Linked DNA regions of Homo sapiens: region 1 is linked to region 2. The links are contacts of gene promoters, found by promoter capture Hi-C in human tissues and cell types (Jung and others, 2019). All regions are on one chromosome and are shown on one strand. The core of a region is centred on a gene start or on the middle of the fragment in contact, and the rest is flanking DNA. Distances in the headings are between cores, read along the strand shown. Region 1 overlaps SRR (serine racemase). Region 2 holds the start of SERPINF2 (serpin family F member 2).

Region 1 (7,590 bases), core at 625-3,124, 570 kb after region 2:
ATACAGCTGGAAAAAAGGTTACAGAAATTTTCCTTTCAAGTCCTTGTTTTACCTAGCATCATAGTGTTGATAAGCAACTTTTACACAGTCATAAATCCTTATAATTAGGATAATATATATAACTTATCCGAGTAATTTTTATATATATGTATGTGCATATATATAATATATACATAAAATACAGTCATATGCCACATAACGTTTCAGTCAATGACAGACCACCTATATGATGGTGGTCCTTGGTCCCATAAGGTTATACCACACATTTACTGTACGATTTCTGTGTTTAGATACAGAAATACTTCTCATTGTGTTATAGCTGCCTACAGTATTCAGTACAGTAACATGCTATACAGGGTTTGCAGCCTAGGAGTAATAGGCTGTAACAGCTGGATTTGTATAAGTACACTCTATGGTGCATGCAAGATGATGAAATTGCCAAATCATGCATTTCTCGAAACATATCCCCATCCTTAAGCAAAGCATGACTTTATTATATATACCATCACTTACTGTCCAAACTAAGACATAATTTATTATCCAAACTAGGACATGTTTGGGACTGAAAGAAGCAACCTGAAATATCTAAACAGACACCTGAACTGTTGCAGGCAAATTGGAAAGTGTTATCACTCTGTATATGACCCAAGTTTAAGCATTCACTGTATCAACTTGCTACACATGGATACATTATCAATATAAAAGATCTAAGCCTGGGCCACACGGCAAAACTCTGTCTACAAAAAATACAAATATATGACAGGCGCAGTGGTTCACACTTGTAATCCCAGCACTTTGGGAGGCTGAGGCAGGTGGATCACCTGAGGTCAGGAGTTCGACACCAGCCTGACCAACATGATGAAACGCTTTTTTGTTTTGTTTTGTTTTGTTTTGAGACGGAGTCTCACTCTGTCCCCCAGGCTGGAGTGCAGTGGCACGATCTCGGCTCACTGTAAGCTCCACCTCCCAGGTTCACGCCATTCTCCTGCCTCAGCCACCCGATTACCTGGGACTACAGGCGCCTGCCACCACGCCCAGCTAATTTTTTTTTTTTTTTTTTTGAATTTTTAGTAGAGACAGGGTTTCACCGTGTTAGCCAGGATGTTCTTGATCTGACCTTGTGATCCGCCCGCCTCTGCCTCCCAAAGTGCTGGGATTACTGGCATGAGTCACCGCACCCAGCCTTGGTGAAACACTTTCTACTAAAAATACAAAATGAGCGGGACTTGGTGCCAGGCACCTGTAATCCCAGCTGCTTGGGAGGCTGAGGCAGGAGAATTGCTTGAACCCAGAAGGCAGAGGTTGCAGTGAGTTGAGATCACGCCATTGCACTCCACCATGGGTGATAGAGGAAGACTCCATCTCGGGGGAAAAAAAAAAAAAAAAAAAAAAGGCCGGGTGCGGTGGCTCACGCCTGTAATCCCAGCACTTTGGGAGGCTGAGGCAGGCGGATAACGAGGTCAAAAGATCGAGACCATCCTGGCTAACACGGGGAAACCCCGTCGCTACTAAAAATACAAAAAAATTAGCCGGGCGTGGTGGCGGGCGCCTGCAGACCCGGCTACTCGAGAAGCTGAGGCAGGAGAATGGCGTGAACCCGGGAGGCGGAGCTTGCAGTGAGCCGAGATCGCGCCACTGCACTGCAGCCCGGGCTACAACAGAGCGAGACTAGGTCTAAAAAAATAAAAAAAAAAAATTTAGCCGGGCATGGTGGCAGGTGCCTATAATCCCAGCTACTTGGGAGGCTGAGGCAGGAAAATCACTTGAACCCGGCCCTGGGGGTAGACGCAGTGTGGGGAGGCGGACGTTGCAGTAAGCCGAGATCGTGGCACTGCACTCCAGCCGGGATAACGGAGACTCCATCTCAAAAAAATAAAAAATAAAGATGCACATGAGATATTTAAGAGGTAAATCGATAAGATTTGGTGACAGATTGGATGTGCATGTTAAGGATAGAAAATCTAGAAAAGCTCCTTGCTTTCCAAAACAATGTTTTAATCAAATATGTGAATTCACCATCCCTCTTTTTCAGATTCGTGGTGCTCTCAATGCCGTCAGAAGCTTGGTTCCTGATGCTTTAGAAAGGAAGCCGAAAGCTGTTGTTACTCACAGCAGTGGAAACCATGGCCAGGCTCTCACCTATGCTGCCAAATTGGAAGGTACTTGATTTCTCAAGGTACTGGGTAGATCTTCAGAAAGGAGTGGAAAAGTGCCCTTAATTTCAGTGAGAGTGATGATAGCTGTGGGAAGTAACTTTCCAAAGAAATCTCTATCTGATTGCAAGCAATATGAACATAAGTTTTTTTTTTGTTTGTTTTGTTTTTTTGAAGACAGAATCTTGCTGTCACCCAGGCTGGAGAGCGGTGACGCGATCTCGGCTCACTGTAACCTCCACCTGCCGGGTTCAAGCGATTCTCCTGCCTCAGCCTCCTGAGTAGCTGGGACTACAGGTGCGCACCACCACGCCTGGCTAATTTTTTCTATTTTACAAATACAAAATACTAATTTCACCATGTTGCCCAGGCTGGTCTCGAACTCCTGGGCTCAAGCAATCCACCCGCCTTGGCCTCCCAAAGTCCTAGGATTACAGGCGTGAGCCACCACACCTGGCTGAACATGTTTCTTTCTTTTTTTTTTTTTTTTTTGAGACGGAGTCTTGCACTGTCGCCCAGGCTGGAATGCAGTGGCAGGATCTCGGCTCACTGCAAGCTCCACCTCCCGGGTTCACACCATTGTCCTGCCTCAGCCTGGGACTACAGGAGCCTGCCACCATGCCTGGCTATTTTTTTTTTTTTTTTTTTTTTTTGTATTTTTAGTAAAGACAGGGTTTCACCGTGTTAGCCAGGATGGTCTCAATTTCCTGACCTTGTGATCCGCCTGCCTCAGCCTCCCAAAGTGCTGGGATTACAGGTGTGACCCACCGTGCCTGGCCACATAAGTTTCTATTCTAAATTCTCCTGACTTTTTCCTCTCGTTTTCCTCTCCCAGGAATTCCTGCTTATATTGTGGTGCCCCAGACAGCTCCAGACTGTAAAAAACTTGCAATACAAGCCTACGGAGCGTCAATTGTATACTGTGAACCTAGTGATGAGGTAAGGAGAGCAGTGCTTGGTACCACCTTAACAGCTTTCATTTGACCAATGGCTCTTTCTACCTTACTGGCTGCTCCTTCTCAGCCTCCTTTGTGGTTTCCCCTTTATTTCTGTTAGCATGCTCAACCTTTTCTCTATCTACACTCACAAGATCTCATTAGTCTCATTTCTTAAATTATTACCTATGGTCTAACAACACCAACTCCAACTTCTCTCCCTTTAACAGCCAACTTTTATATAACAGCTACCTAACTTTCCCACTTGATGTCTTAAAAGGCATCTCAAACTACAGCTAAAACCAAACTCCTGATCTTACTTCCCTATATTGCTTCCCTTCCAGTCTTCCTCATCTTAGTAAATGGCAATTTTTATTCTTCTAGTTACTCAAAAAAAAGTTGGAGTCATCTTTTTTTGAAAATTTTTTGTTGTTGTTGTTAAAGATGGACTCTTTCTATGTTGTGGGATCCTTCTGCCTCAGCCTGTTGAGTAGCTAGGACTACAGGTGCATGCCACCACACCTAATTCCTTTATTTTTTGTAGACAGGGTCTCACTGTTGCCCAGGCTGGTCTCAAACTCCTGGATTCAAGCAGTCCTCCCACCTTGGCCTCCCAAAATGCTGGGATCACAGGCATGACCCACTGCACACAGCCAGGAATCCTCTCTGATAACCCTCTCATACCCCACATCCAAATCTCAGTCTGCTTTCAACATATTTCCATAACCCAACTGCTTCTGTGTCTACCGTTAGCACTCTGATTCAAACCAACATCAATTCTCACCTATATTCAATTCAGTAGCCAAACTGGTCTCTCTGCATCCACCCTTGCCACACTACAGGCTTTTTTGAGCAACCAGAGGTCTCCATTTAATAAAGTCAGAACTTGTCTCTTCTTTTTTTTTTTTTTTGAGGCGGAGTCTTGCTCTGTCGCCCAAGCTGGAGTGCAGTGGTGCCATCTTGGCTCACTGCAAGCCCCGCCTCCTGGGTTCCAGCGATTCTCTTGCCTCAGCCTCCCGAGTAGCTGGGACTACAGGCGCCTGCCACCATGCCCAGCTAATTTTTTCTATTTTTAGTAGAGACGGGGTTTCACTGTGTTAGCCAGGATGGTCTCGATCTCCTGACCTCGTGATCCACCCACCTCGGCCTCCCAAAGTGCTGGGATTACAGGCGTGAGCCACCACGCCTGGCCAGAACTTGTCTCTTTTCAAGTCTAAATCCTCTGTTGGTTTCCCATCTCATACACGGTGGAAACGAGAGTTCTTGCAATCATCTAATCCCTGGATAAACTCAAACATTCCTATCTTTCTGACCTCATCTCTCATCTTTTTTTTTTTTTTTTTTTTTTTTTAGACAGAATCTCCCCGTCTCCCAGGCTGGAGTGCAGCGGCACAATCTCGGCTCACTGCAACCTCCGCCTCCTGGGTTCAAGCGATTCTTCTGCCTCAGCCTCCCGAGTAGCTGGGACTACAGGCGCGTGCCACCATGCCCAGCTAATTTTTGATTCTTTAGTACAGACAGGGTTTCACCATATTGGCCAGGCTGGTCTCGAACTCCTGACCTCGTGATCTGCCCGCCTTGGCCTCCCAAAGTGCTGGGATTACAAGTGTGAGCCACCGTGCCTGGTCCCTCATCTTCTTTTTATTTATTTTGAGACAGGGTCTCACTCTGTCCAACCCAGGCTGGAGTGCGGTAGTTTCTTCTCAGCTCCCTGCAGCCTCCGCTTCCTGGGTTCAAGAGATTCTCATGCCTCAGCCACCAGAGTAGCTGGGATTACAGGCGCGTGCCACCACATCTGGCTAATTTTTGTATTTTTAGTAGAGACGGGGTTTTGCCGTGTTGGCAAGGCTGGTCTTGAACTCCTGACCTGAAGTGATCTGCCCACCTTGGCCTCCCAGAGTGCTGGGATTATAGGTGTCAGCCACTGCACCCAGCCTTGACCTCATCTTCTATTATTTCTCTTGCCCACTCTGTGCCAGCCATACTAACCTTTTTAGCTGTTCCTCAGAAAGGCCAAGCACTCCTACTTTGTAGTCTTTGCACTGTTACCCCCTCTCTGGAATATTCTAGACATCCACAGCACTTGTTCAGATCTTTTAAAATGTCACTTTACTAGAGGCTCTTCTTGGCTACCCTATATGAAATAAATTCCTTCATTTTACTCCATTGCACTTAGACATACCATATATTTACTTCATCCATCTCTACCATACAATATAACGTGCTTGAGGGCAGGGATATTTTATTAACATATATATCTCTAGTACCTGAACAAAGTGTGAAAAAAGTAGATGGTCAATAAAATGCTGAATGACCAAATGGAACTTGTTGGGGACTCTATTAAATACAAATCAATTAAGCTAAATTAATGTACTTTCAGTCCAGAGAAAATGTTGCAAAAAGAGTTACAGAAGAAACAGAAGGCATCATGGTACATCCCAACCAGGAGCCTGCAGTGATAGCTGGACAAGGGACAATTGCCCTGGAAGTGCTGAACCAGGTAAAATAGCTGAGTTCTTCCTGTTTAGCTACTGGTAAAGCTGTTGGGCTATATTCAATTATTTTATATGTATACATTAAATATAAAACTGCTTACAGTTTATATTTTCACTAAAGGTTCCTTTGGTGGATGCACTGGTGGTACCTGTAGGTGGAGGAGGAATGCTTGCTGGAATAGCAATTACAGTTAAGGTGAGCAGCTTCTGGAGGATTCCCTGCTTCAAGCAGAGGATTTACTTTACATCCTAAATGTTCTGTATACACGTGCTCAACATTCTGCACACATTACCATTCCTTCCCCTTATTCCTTTGGGACTTGAGATGAAGGCCCATCTCTGCCTCACTACTCTATTTACTATTATTATTATTTTTTGAGACAGATTCTCGCTGTTGCCCAGGCTGGAGTGCAGTGGCACGATCCTGGCCCACTGCAGCCTCCACCTCCCGGGTTCAAGCGATTCTCCTGTCTCAGCCTCCTGAGTAGCTGGGATTACAGGCATGAGCCACCACACCCCGCTAATTTTTTTGTATTTTTTTTAGTAGAGACAGGGTTTCACCATGTTGGTCAGGCTGGTCTTGAACTCCTGACCTTGCGATCCACCCGCCTTGGCCTCCCAAAGTGTTGGGATTACAGGCGTGAGCCACTGCGCCCGGCCTATTTATTATTTCTAATATTTTTATTTTTTTTAAGAGATGGGGTCTTGCTGTGTTGGCCAGGTTGGTCTGGAACTCCTGGGCTCAAGCAGTCCTTACTTTGGCCTCCCAAAGTGCTAGGATTACAGGTGTGAGCCACCGCACCCAGCCAACTCTCTTCTTAATCCATGACAATTTTACAGCACAAAAGCAGTTACAAGTGACACCATCATAGTCTTTTCCCTGAATTCCATGTCATCAAGCTACTATCCATACCAAGGGGCTACCCTTTTCTCAAATTACCAGGACAATCAGATGTGATCCAGGCAATGGAAGGCTAGTATCAGACATATAATTTATTTATAAAGTGCTTGAAGATATTTTCATTACATCCACAAAAGGGAAGGCTCTTACTTGGGCAGAAATGTATTACTTATTGTGCCTATTTTCTTTTTTTTTTTGAGACGGAGTCTCACTCTGTCACCCAGGCTGGAGTGCAGTGGCACGATCTTGGCTCACTGCAAGCTCCACCTCCCAGGTTCACGCCATTCTCCTGCCTCTGCCTCCCGAGTAGCTGGGACTACAGGTGCCTGCCACCATGCCTGGCTAGTTTTTTTTTGTTTTTTTTTTTTGTATTTTTAGTAGAGACGGGGTTTCACCGTGTTAGCCAGGATGGTCTTGATCTCCCTACCTCGTGATCCGCCCACCTCGGCCTCCCAAAGTGCTGGGATTACAGGCGTGAGCCACTGCGCCCCACCCCATTTTGGTGTGATCTCAGCTCACTGCAACCTACCCCTCCCAAGTTCAAGTGATTCTCCTACCTCAGCCTCTTGAGTAGCTGGGATTACAGGGGTCTGCCACCACGCCTGGCTGATTTTCCTATTTTTAGTTGACACTGCATTTCACCAGGTTGGCCAGGCTGGTCTTGAACTCCTGACCTCAGCTGATCCACCCGCCTCGGGCTCCCAAAGTGTTGGGATTACAGGTGTGAGCCACCACACCAGGCCCATATTTTCTTTTAGACATGCAGGCAATGTTGTGGTTTGTTGTTAAGATGTCTTAATATTCCTCTTCCCAGGCTCTGAAACCTAGTGTGAAGGTATATGCTGCTGAACCCTCAAATGCAGATGACTGCTACCAGTCCAAGCTGAAGGGGAAACTGATGCCCAATCTTTATCCTCCAGAAACCATAGCAGATGGTGTCAAATCCAGCATTGGCTTGAACACCTGGCCTATTATCAGGGACCTTGTGGATGATATCTTCACTGTCACAGAGGATGAAATTAAGGTGAGGCTCCAGCAAGAAAAGAAATAGCAAAGCATGGTGTAACTTCTTAGGCAGAAGAAACTTCCCTTAGGAGTAGCAAGTG
Region 2 (7,859 bases), core at 4,953-7,452:
ACGCCTGGGCATGGGGATCCTGTCCCCGTCTCCTTCCCCTCCCCCTCCCTCCATTCTCAGTCACAGGCCTCGGGGAGCTGCTCAGGGAGGCCCAGGAGGGGAGGAACAGGGCTTCGTGTGGGAGGATTTCTGCAGGCAGCTGGGACTTTCCTCCCCAGCTTGGCTGGAGGCCAGGAGTCTTGCATTGCCCTGCTGACAGCAGGCTGTCGCTGGCTCCCTCCAGAGCCCCAGGGAACCCTCAGCTCAAGGTGCCCCCAAATTCTAACTTTCCAAGAAAGTGTCAGGAGGGCTCTGGGGTCAGCCTGGGTGTTAATCCCAGCTCTGCTGCTTGCTGGCCCCATGACCTTGGTATGGTTACTTCACTTCTCTGAGCCTCACTTTTCCTGTTTGTGAAATGGGGACAATGGCAGCATCCACCGCATAGGGTTGTTACGAAGGTCAAGGTCGTCACGTGCACGCCTGGCACCATGCCTGTGCGTAGTTCTCAAGTTAGAGTGACGACTGGGTTACGGATGCTGAGCGTATTAAAATGAACCAACGTGAATATGGTGTGTGTGGGAGGGTGGCGGCTTGTCACCCACCCAGGACGGCCTGTCTCCCTGGAGAGAAACTGCGGAGGGAACTGGGAAGGCCTTGGGGCCCAAGGGTATGCAGAAGGACCCAGGCTCCTGCTGAGGCTCTCCTCTCCCGGGACAGGCGGTGGAGGGCAGCGTCCTGGTCAGCTCCTCCTCTGACCATTCCTTGACCGTCTGGAAGGAGCTGGAGCAGAAGCCCACCCATCACTACAAGTCAGCATCCGACCCCATCCACACCTTTGACCTGTACGGCAGCGAGGTGGTCACTGGCACCGTGTCCAACAAGATTGGCGTCTGCTCCCTGCTTGAGCCACCCTCGCAGGCCACCACGAAGCTCAGCTCTGAGAACTTCCGCGGCACGCTCACCAGCCTGGCCTTGCTGCCCACTAAACGCCACCTCCTGCTGGGCTCAGACAACGGGGTTATCCGCCTCCTGGCATAGACTGAGGCAGGAGCTGGCCGGGCAAGGGTGGGAAGACATCTGCGGGCGCGTGTCCACTCACCCTGTTCCCTGAGCAGCAGCTCCCTCCAGGGAGGCCCTGGGTCCCACGCCCTGGGTGCCCACATGGCCTGCCAACTAGGGCCTGCAAATGGAGTGGGGGAGTCCTGGCCCCTGAATCACCAGAGCCACCAAGCCTGCCAGAGGGGTCTCATTCATGGCTTGGGGACACAGGGCTCCTAGCAAGCAGGAAGTTAAGAGCAGGAGGAAGCGTTGCTACCTTCACTTCTCCCCAGCTCTGCCCTCTGGGTCCACATGAGGACAGGGAAGCTCGGGAAGGGGAAGGGAGACTGGCCCTGCCCAGCCGGTCTCTAGCCCCTCAGCCCCCGCTGGGCACTCTCTGTCCCATCCCTCTAGGACAGGGAAGCTGGCCTGGTCCAGGGCACTGATGGTGCTTGGATTCCAGCCTAAGGAAGGCTGGCCGTGGTCCAGGAGTTAAGGGCTTGGGTCTGGGGTTTAAGTGGCCACCCATCCAGGCCCTGGCCAGTGTGGGACCGGGACGGGAAGGAAGAAGGAGGCTAGGAGCAGGGGGAAAAGGTGCACTTGGCCAGTGGCGCCTGCCAGGAGTGAGTCCATGCGTTGTCTGCCCACCCCTACCACAGTGTTTGTGCCTTCAGCTGAGGGGGCAGCCTCTGGGCCCTGAACCCCTGCTGGGGCTCCACGACCCTGAGAGAAGGGGTGAGAAGAATCATCTCTGCACCTCGGGTCTCTGCCAGAGGAAGACTTAAGCATCCCTGCGACCTCACATTCTAGACAGAGATGAGGTCCAGGGGTTGGCCCCTGCTGCCTTCTCACAATTTGCAATAGATGTAAATAGGACCAATAAATCCTTTGGAAGAGCCATGGGGTGAACTGAGGCTTGTCTTTTTTTTTTTTTTCAATAGAGATGGAGTCTGACTATGTTGCCCAAGCTGGTCTCCAACTCCTGGGCTCAAGCGATCCTCCTGCCTCGGCCTCCCAAAGTGTTGGGATTACAGGCATGAGCCACCACGCCCAGCCTGAGGCTTATCTTGCTGGTGGTGTCAGGGTGGGGAAAGTCGAGACCCAGCAGTTTCCAGGACAGTGAGGGTGGGAAGGGGCCTGATGGAGGGAGTGAGGAGCAGGACAGTGAGGGTAGGAGGCGGCCTGATGCAGGGAGTGAGGCGCAGGACAGTGAGGGTGGGAAGGAGCCTGATGCAGGGAGTGAGGCGCAGGACAGTGAGGGTGGGAAGGAGCCTGATGCAGGGAGTGAGGCGCAGGACAGTGAGGGTGGGAAGGAGCCTGATGCAGGGAGTGAGGCGCAGGACAGTGAGGGTGGGAAGGAGCCTGATGCAGGGAGTGAGGCGCAGGACAGTGAGGGTGGGAAGGAGCCTGATGCAGGGAGTGAGGCGCAGGACAGTGAGGGTGGGAAGGAGCCTGATGCAGGGAGTGAGGCGCAGGACAGTGAGGGTGGGAAGGAGCCTGATGCAGGGAGTGAGGAGCCGGACAGTGAGGGTGGGAGGCGGCCTGATGCAGGGAGTGAGGCGCAGGACAGTGAGGGTGGGAAGGAGCCTGATGCAGGGAGTGAGGCGCAGGACAGTGAGGGTGGGAAGGAGCCTGATGCAGGGAGTGAGGAGCAGGACAGTGAGGGTGGGAAGGAGCCTGATGCAGGGAGTGAGGAGCCGGACAGTGAGGGTGGGAAGGAGCCTGATGCAGGGAGTGAGGAGCAGGACAGTGAGGGTGGGAAGTGGCCTGATGCAGGGAGTGAGGAGCAGGTGTGAGGGCGGGAAGCGGCCTGATGCAGGGAGTGAGGCGCAGGACAGTGAGGGTGGGAAGGAGCCTGATGCAGGGAGTGAGGCGCAGGACAGTGAGGGTGGGAAGGAGCCTGATGCAGGGAGTGAGGCGCAGGACAGTGAGGGTGGGAAGGAGCCTGATGCAGGGAGTGAGGAGCAGGACAGTGAGGGTGGGAAGTGGCCTGATGCAGGGAGTGAGGCGCAGGACAGTGAGGGTGGGAGGCGGCCTGATGCAGGGAGTGAGGCGCAGGACAGTGAGGGTGGGAAGGAGCCTGATGCAGGGAGTGAGGCGCAGGACAGTGAGGGTGGGAAGGGGCCTGATGCAGGGAGTGAGGCGCAGGACAGTGAGGGTGGGAAGGAGCCTGATGCAGGGAGTGAGGAGCCGGACAGTGAGGGTGGGAAGGAGCCTGATGCAGGGAGTGAGGAGCAGGACAGTGAGGGTGGGAGGTGGCCTGATGCAGGGAGTGAGGAGCCGGACAGTGAGGGTGGGAAGGAGCCTGATGCAGGGAGTGAGGCGCAGGACAGTGAGGGTGGGAGGCGGCCTGATGCAGGGAGTGAGGCGCAGGACAGTGAGGGTGGGAAGGAGCCTGATGCAGGGAGTGAGGAGCAGGACAGTGAGGGTGGGAGGCGGCCTGATGCAGGGAGTGAGGCGCAGGACAGTGAGGGTGGGAAGGAGCCTGATGCAGGGAGTGAGGCGCAGGACAGTGAGGGTGGGAAGGAGCCTGATGCAGGGAGTGAGGCACAGGACAGTGAGGGTGGGAAGTGGCCTGATGCAGGGAGTGAGGCGCAGGACAGTGAGGGTGGGAAGGAGCCTGATGCAGGGAGTGAGGAGCCGGACAGTGAGGGTGGGAAGGAGCCTGATGCAGGGAGTGAGGCGCAGGACAGTGAGGGTGGGAAGGGGCCTGATGCAGGGAGTGAGGCGCAGGACAGTGAGGGTGGGAAGGAGCCTGATGCAGGGAGTGAGGAGCAGGACAGTGAGGGTGGGAGGCGGCCTGATGCAGGGAGTGAGGAGCCGGACAGTGAGGGTGGGAAGGAGCCTGATGCAGGGAGTGAGGAGCCGGACAGTGAGGGTGGGAAGGAGCCTGATGCAGGGAGTGAGGCGCAGGACAGTGAGGGTGGGAGGCGGCCTGATGCAGGGAGTGAGGCGCAGGACAGTGAGGGTGGGAAGGAGCCTGATGCAGGGAGTGAGGAGCAGGACAGTCAGGGTGGGAGGCGGCCTGATGCAGGGAGTGAGGCGCAGGACAGTGAGGGTGGGAAGGAGCCTGATGCAGGGAGTGAGGCGCAGGACAGTGAGGGTGGGAAGGAGCCTGATGCAGGGAGTGAGGCGCAGGACAGTGAGGGTGGGAAGTGGCCTGATGCAGGGAGTGAGGCGCAGGACAGTGAGGGTGGGAAGTGGCCTGATGCAGGGAGTGAGGCGCAGGACAGTGAGGGTGGGAAGGGGCCTGATGCAGGGAGTGAGGCGCAGGACAGTGAGGGTGGGAAGGGGCCTGATGCAGGGAGTGAGGAGCCGGACAGTGAGGGTGGGAAGGAGCCTGATGCAGGGAGTGAGGCGCAGGACAGTGAGGGTGGGAAGGGGCCTGATGCAGGGAGTGAGGCGCAGGACAGTGAGGGTGGGAAGGGGCCTGATGCAGGGAGTGAGGAGCCGGACACTGAGGGTGGGAAGGAGCCTGATGCAGGGAGTGAGGCGCAGGACAGTGAGGGTGGGAAGGGGCCTGATGCAGGGAGTGAGGCGCAGGACAGTGAGGGTGGGAAGGGGCCTGATGCAGGGAGTGAGGAGCCGGACAGTGAGGGTGGGAAGGAGCCTGATGCAGGGAGTGAGGCGCAGGACAGTGAAGGTGGGAAGGGGCCTGATGCAGGGAGTGAGGCGCAAGACAGTGAGGGTGGGAAGGAGCCTGATGCAGGGAGTGAGGCGCAGGACAGTGAGGGTGGGAAGGAGCCTGATGCAGGGAGTGAGGAGCAGGACAGTGAAGGTGGGAAGGAGCCTGATGCAGGGAGTGAGGAGCCGGACAGTGAGGGTGGGAAGGAGCCTGATGCAGGGAGTGAGGAGCTGGACAGTGAGGATGGGAAGGAGCCTGATGCAGGGAGTGAGGAGCAGGACAGTGAGGGTGGGAAGTGGCCTGATGCAGGGAGTGAGGCGCAGGACAGTGAGGGTGGGAAGGAGCCTGATGCAGGGAGTGAGGAGCAGGACAGTGAGGGTGGGAGGCGGCCTGATGCAGGGAGTGAGGAGCCGGACAGTGAGGGTGGGAGGCGGCCTGATGCAGGGAGTGAGGAGCAGGACAGTGAGGGTGGGAAGTGGCCCGATGCAGGGAGTGAGGCGCAGGACAGTGAGGGTGGGAAGGAGCCTGATGCAGGGAGTGAGGAGCCGGACAGTGAGGGTGGGAAGGAGCCTGATGCAGGGAGTGAGGAGCCGGACAGTGAGGGTGGGAAGGAGCCTGATGCAGGGAGTGAGGAGCAGGTGTGAGGGCGGGAAGCGGCCTGATGCAGGGAGTGAGGAGCAGGACAGTGAGGGTGGGAAGGGGCCTGATACAGGGAGTGAGGAGCAGGACAGTGAGGGTGGGAAGGAGCCTGATGCAGGGAGTGAGGAGCCGGACAGTGAGGGTGGGAAGCAGCCTGATCTTTGCACGGGCTGCCAGGCTTCTGGTTCATACAGCCCCAGGTCAGTTTCCAGAACCCTCGCTCTTGGGTAGGGGAAAGAGACATTGCTCTGGAGTGGCAGGACGGTGGGAGAAGTTGAGTCCCTCTCATTTCTCCTCCCTCACCCCCTGCCTTCCATCCCAGTCTGAAGGCAGCCAACCTGATCCTGGGCTTGGAAGGTTGGGGGTGGGCTTCCTATCCTGGGCTCTCTGCATAGGCTCTTGTGGCTTCCCCTTTCCTCCCCTCAGGAGCGGGAGGCAGCTCTCTGGGAGAAGAAAGGACATTGGGAGTGAGAATCTGGATGTGCCTCAGCCCAGCTCTGTGTCCTTGGGCAGGTCACATGGCCTCTCTGAGCCTGGCTGAACCAGGGATAATCCACACCTCGTGGGGTCTCTGGAAGGCTTAACACAGTGCTAGGTTCCTGTGCTTTCTGGATCCGCCCTCTTGGCTAGCCAGATCCAGTCTCTTCAACTCTCTCCTCCTGAACTTTCTCTTTCCAGGCTCGGGGGGGGGGACCCAAATATAGGGGGTTCTGCGTGGCTGCCTCAGGGTTAGATGCCCTGGTGGGAAAGGGGCTTCTGGCTTCAAGATCAATGTTTAACTGGATGTGCAAGTCAATATTTACCAGAAGAGAAAGCAATCTGAACAGGGGTTGGCTGAGAGTAAAGGTCCTGGTGGGAGGGGAGGGGTGGGCTGGGCCAGCTGGAGCCTGGGCAGAGAGTGAGGAGCACCCAAGTGGGGCCAGAGGAACGTTGTGTGTGGCAGCAAGGAGCCCGCAGAGGTATGAGGGGAGGGGCTGCTCGGCCTGCTCCTTGGGTAGGAGAGGAGGAGGGAGCTGCCTCCCTGGCTGAGGGGTCTGGGATTTATTCAGGAGGCCTGTCACTCCCCAGCCTCTTCTGGGACTTGAAAAACTGGAGCCTGTTCTTGGCAAGAAGATTCTAATGCCCAGGTCGGAGTCGGGGCCCTGGCCAAGGGCTCTTGTGTGGGATGGGGGTGGGGCCGGGGGGACCAAAGGATCCTCCAGAAGGGTTGGCCCCAAGATGGGGGTGGGCTGGAGGTAGCTGAGACCTGCTCTGACTTATCCTCCTGAGACCAACACCTGCCCTTCCCAGAGCCAGCCTGGAGCAGAGGCCTGTGATGCTCCTAAGTGCAGAGGTGGCTCTGGCCAGAGTCATTCACTGGGCTCTGCTGCTGGGTCAAAAGGCAGCTCTCTGGCTGCCTTGCCACCCATGGTGAGACCTCAGGGCCTCACAGGTATGTCCAGCCTTGTGGGCAAGACCTGACCAGCCTGAGAAAGACGGGTTGGGGCCAGGCGTGGTGGCTCATGCCTGTCATCCCAGCACTTTGGGAGGCTGAGGCAGGTGGATCACCTGAGGTCAGGAGTTCGAGACCAGCCTGACCAACATGGAGAAACCCTGTCTCTACTAAAAATACAAAATTAGCCAGGCATGGTGGCACATGCCTGTAATCCCAGCTACTCGGGAGGCTGAGGCAGGAGAATCGCTTTAACCCAGGAGGTGGAGGTTGCAGTGAGCCGAGATCGTGCCATTGCACTCCAGCCTGCATGATAAGAATGAAACTCCATCTCAAAAAAAAAAAAAAAAAAAAAAAAGACAGGCTAAATGGATGCAGCAGGCTGGGTAGGAGCTCTGTGTTGGAGCTCTGCGGTGGAGGCTTCAGGGCAGGCTTCCCAGAAGAGGTGGCCTTGAGCCAAGCTGACCCCAGCCATCGGGGGAGTGCCAAGCATTGTACTCAGGGTTTACAAAGATGGTCTTATTTATTTTTTTGAGACAGAGTCTTGCTCTGTCGCCCAGGCTGGAGTGCAGTGGCGTGATCTCGGCTCACTGCAACCTCCGCCTCCCGGGTTCAAGCAGTTCTCTGCCTCAGCCTCCCGAGTAGCTGGGATTACAGGGGCCCACCACCACGCCTGGCTAATTTTGTATTTTCAGTAGAGATGGGGTTTTACCATGTTGGCCAGGCTGGTCTTGAACTCCCGACCTCAGGTGATCCACCTGCCCCTGGCCTCCCAAAGTGCTGGGATTACAGGCTTGAGCCACCGTGCCTGGCCACAAAGATGGTCTTTTGCCGGGTGCAGTGGCTCATGCCTGTAATCCCAGTACTTTGGGAGGCCGAGGCAGGAGGATCACCTGAGGTCGGGAGTTTAAGACCAGCCTGACTAACACAGAGAAACCCCGTTTCTACTAAGAAATACAGAATTAGCCAGGCGTGGTGGTGCATGCCTGTAATCCCAGCTATTCGGGAGGCTGAAGCAGGAGAATCGCTTGAACCTGGGAGGTGGAGGTTGCGGTGAGCCGAGATCCTGCCACTGCACTCCAGCCTGGTCAACGAGAGCGAAACTCCGTCTCAAAAAATAAACAACAAAAAATCCCAAAAAGACGG

What was found. Contacts are between HindIII fragments. The study calls those that stand out against the background at their distance.
Region 1: a fragment that was not itself captured here is called in contact with the fragment with the promoter of SERPINF2 in region 2 in 2 of the 25 tissues and cell types used here (dorsolateral prefrontal cortex and pancreas).

Annotation. Positions count from the first base shown.
Region 1 is chr17:2,315,838-2,323,427 of GRCh38, forward strand. It overlaps SRR (serine racemase), which reads left to right. Exons shown (of 8, transcript NM_021947.3): 3 at 2,033-2,159; 4 at 2,989-3,092; 5 at 5,469-5,588; 6 at 5,705-5,779; 7 at 7,299-7,508. It overlaps TSR1 (TSR1 ribosome maturation factor), which reads right to left. Exons shown (of 15, transcript NM_018128.5): 15 at 6,559-7,590. Among named protein-coding and RNA genes, the nearest start is that of SNORD91B, 9.6 kb to the right of the region's middle. The HindIII fragment of the contact is 6,003 bases long and covers 1-4,876 here.
Region 2 is chr17:1,736,669-1,744,527 of GRCh38, forward strand. It overlaps SERPINF2 (serpin family F member 2), which reads left to right and starts at 6,203. Exons shown (of 10, transcript NM_000934.4): 1 at 6,203-6,240. It overlaps WDR81 (WD repeat domain 81), which reads left to right. Exons shown (of 10, transcript NM_001163809.2): 10 at 697-1,917. The coding sequence ends at 1,017. RefSeq lists a silencer at 1-261. The HindIII fragment of the contact is 23,738 bases long and covers 1-7,859 here.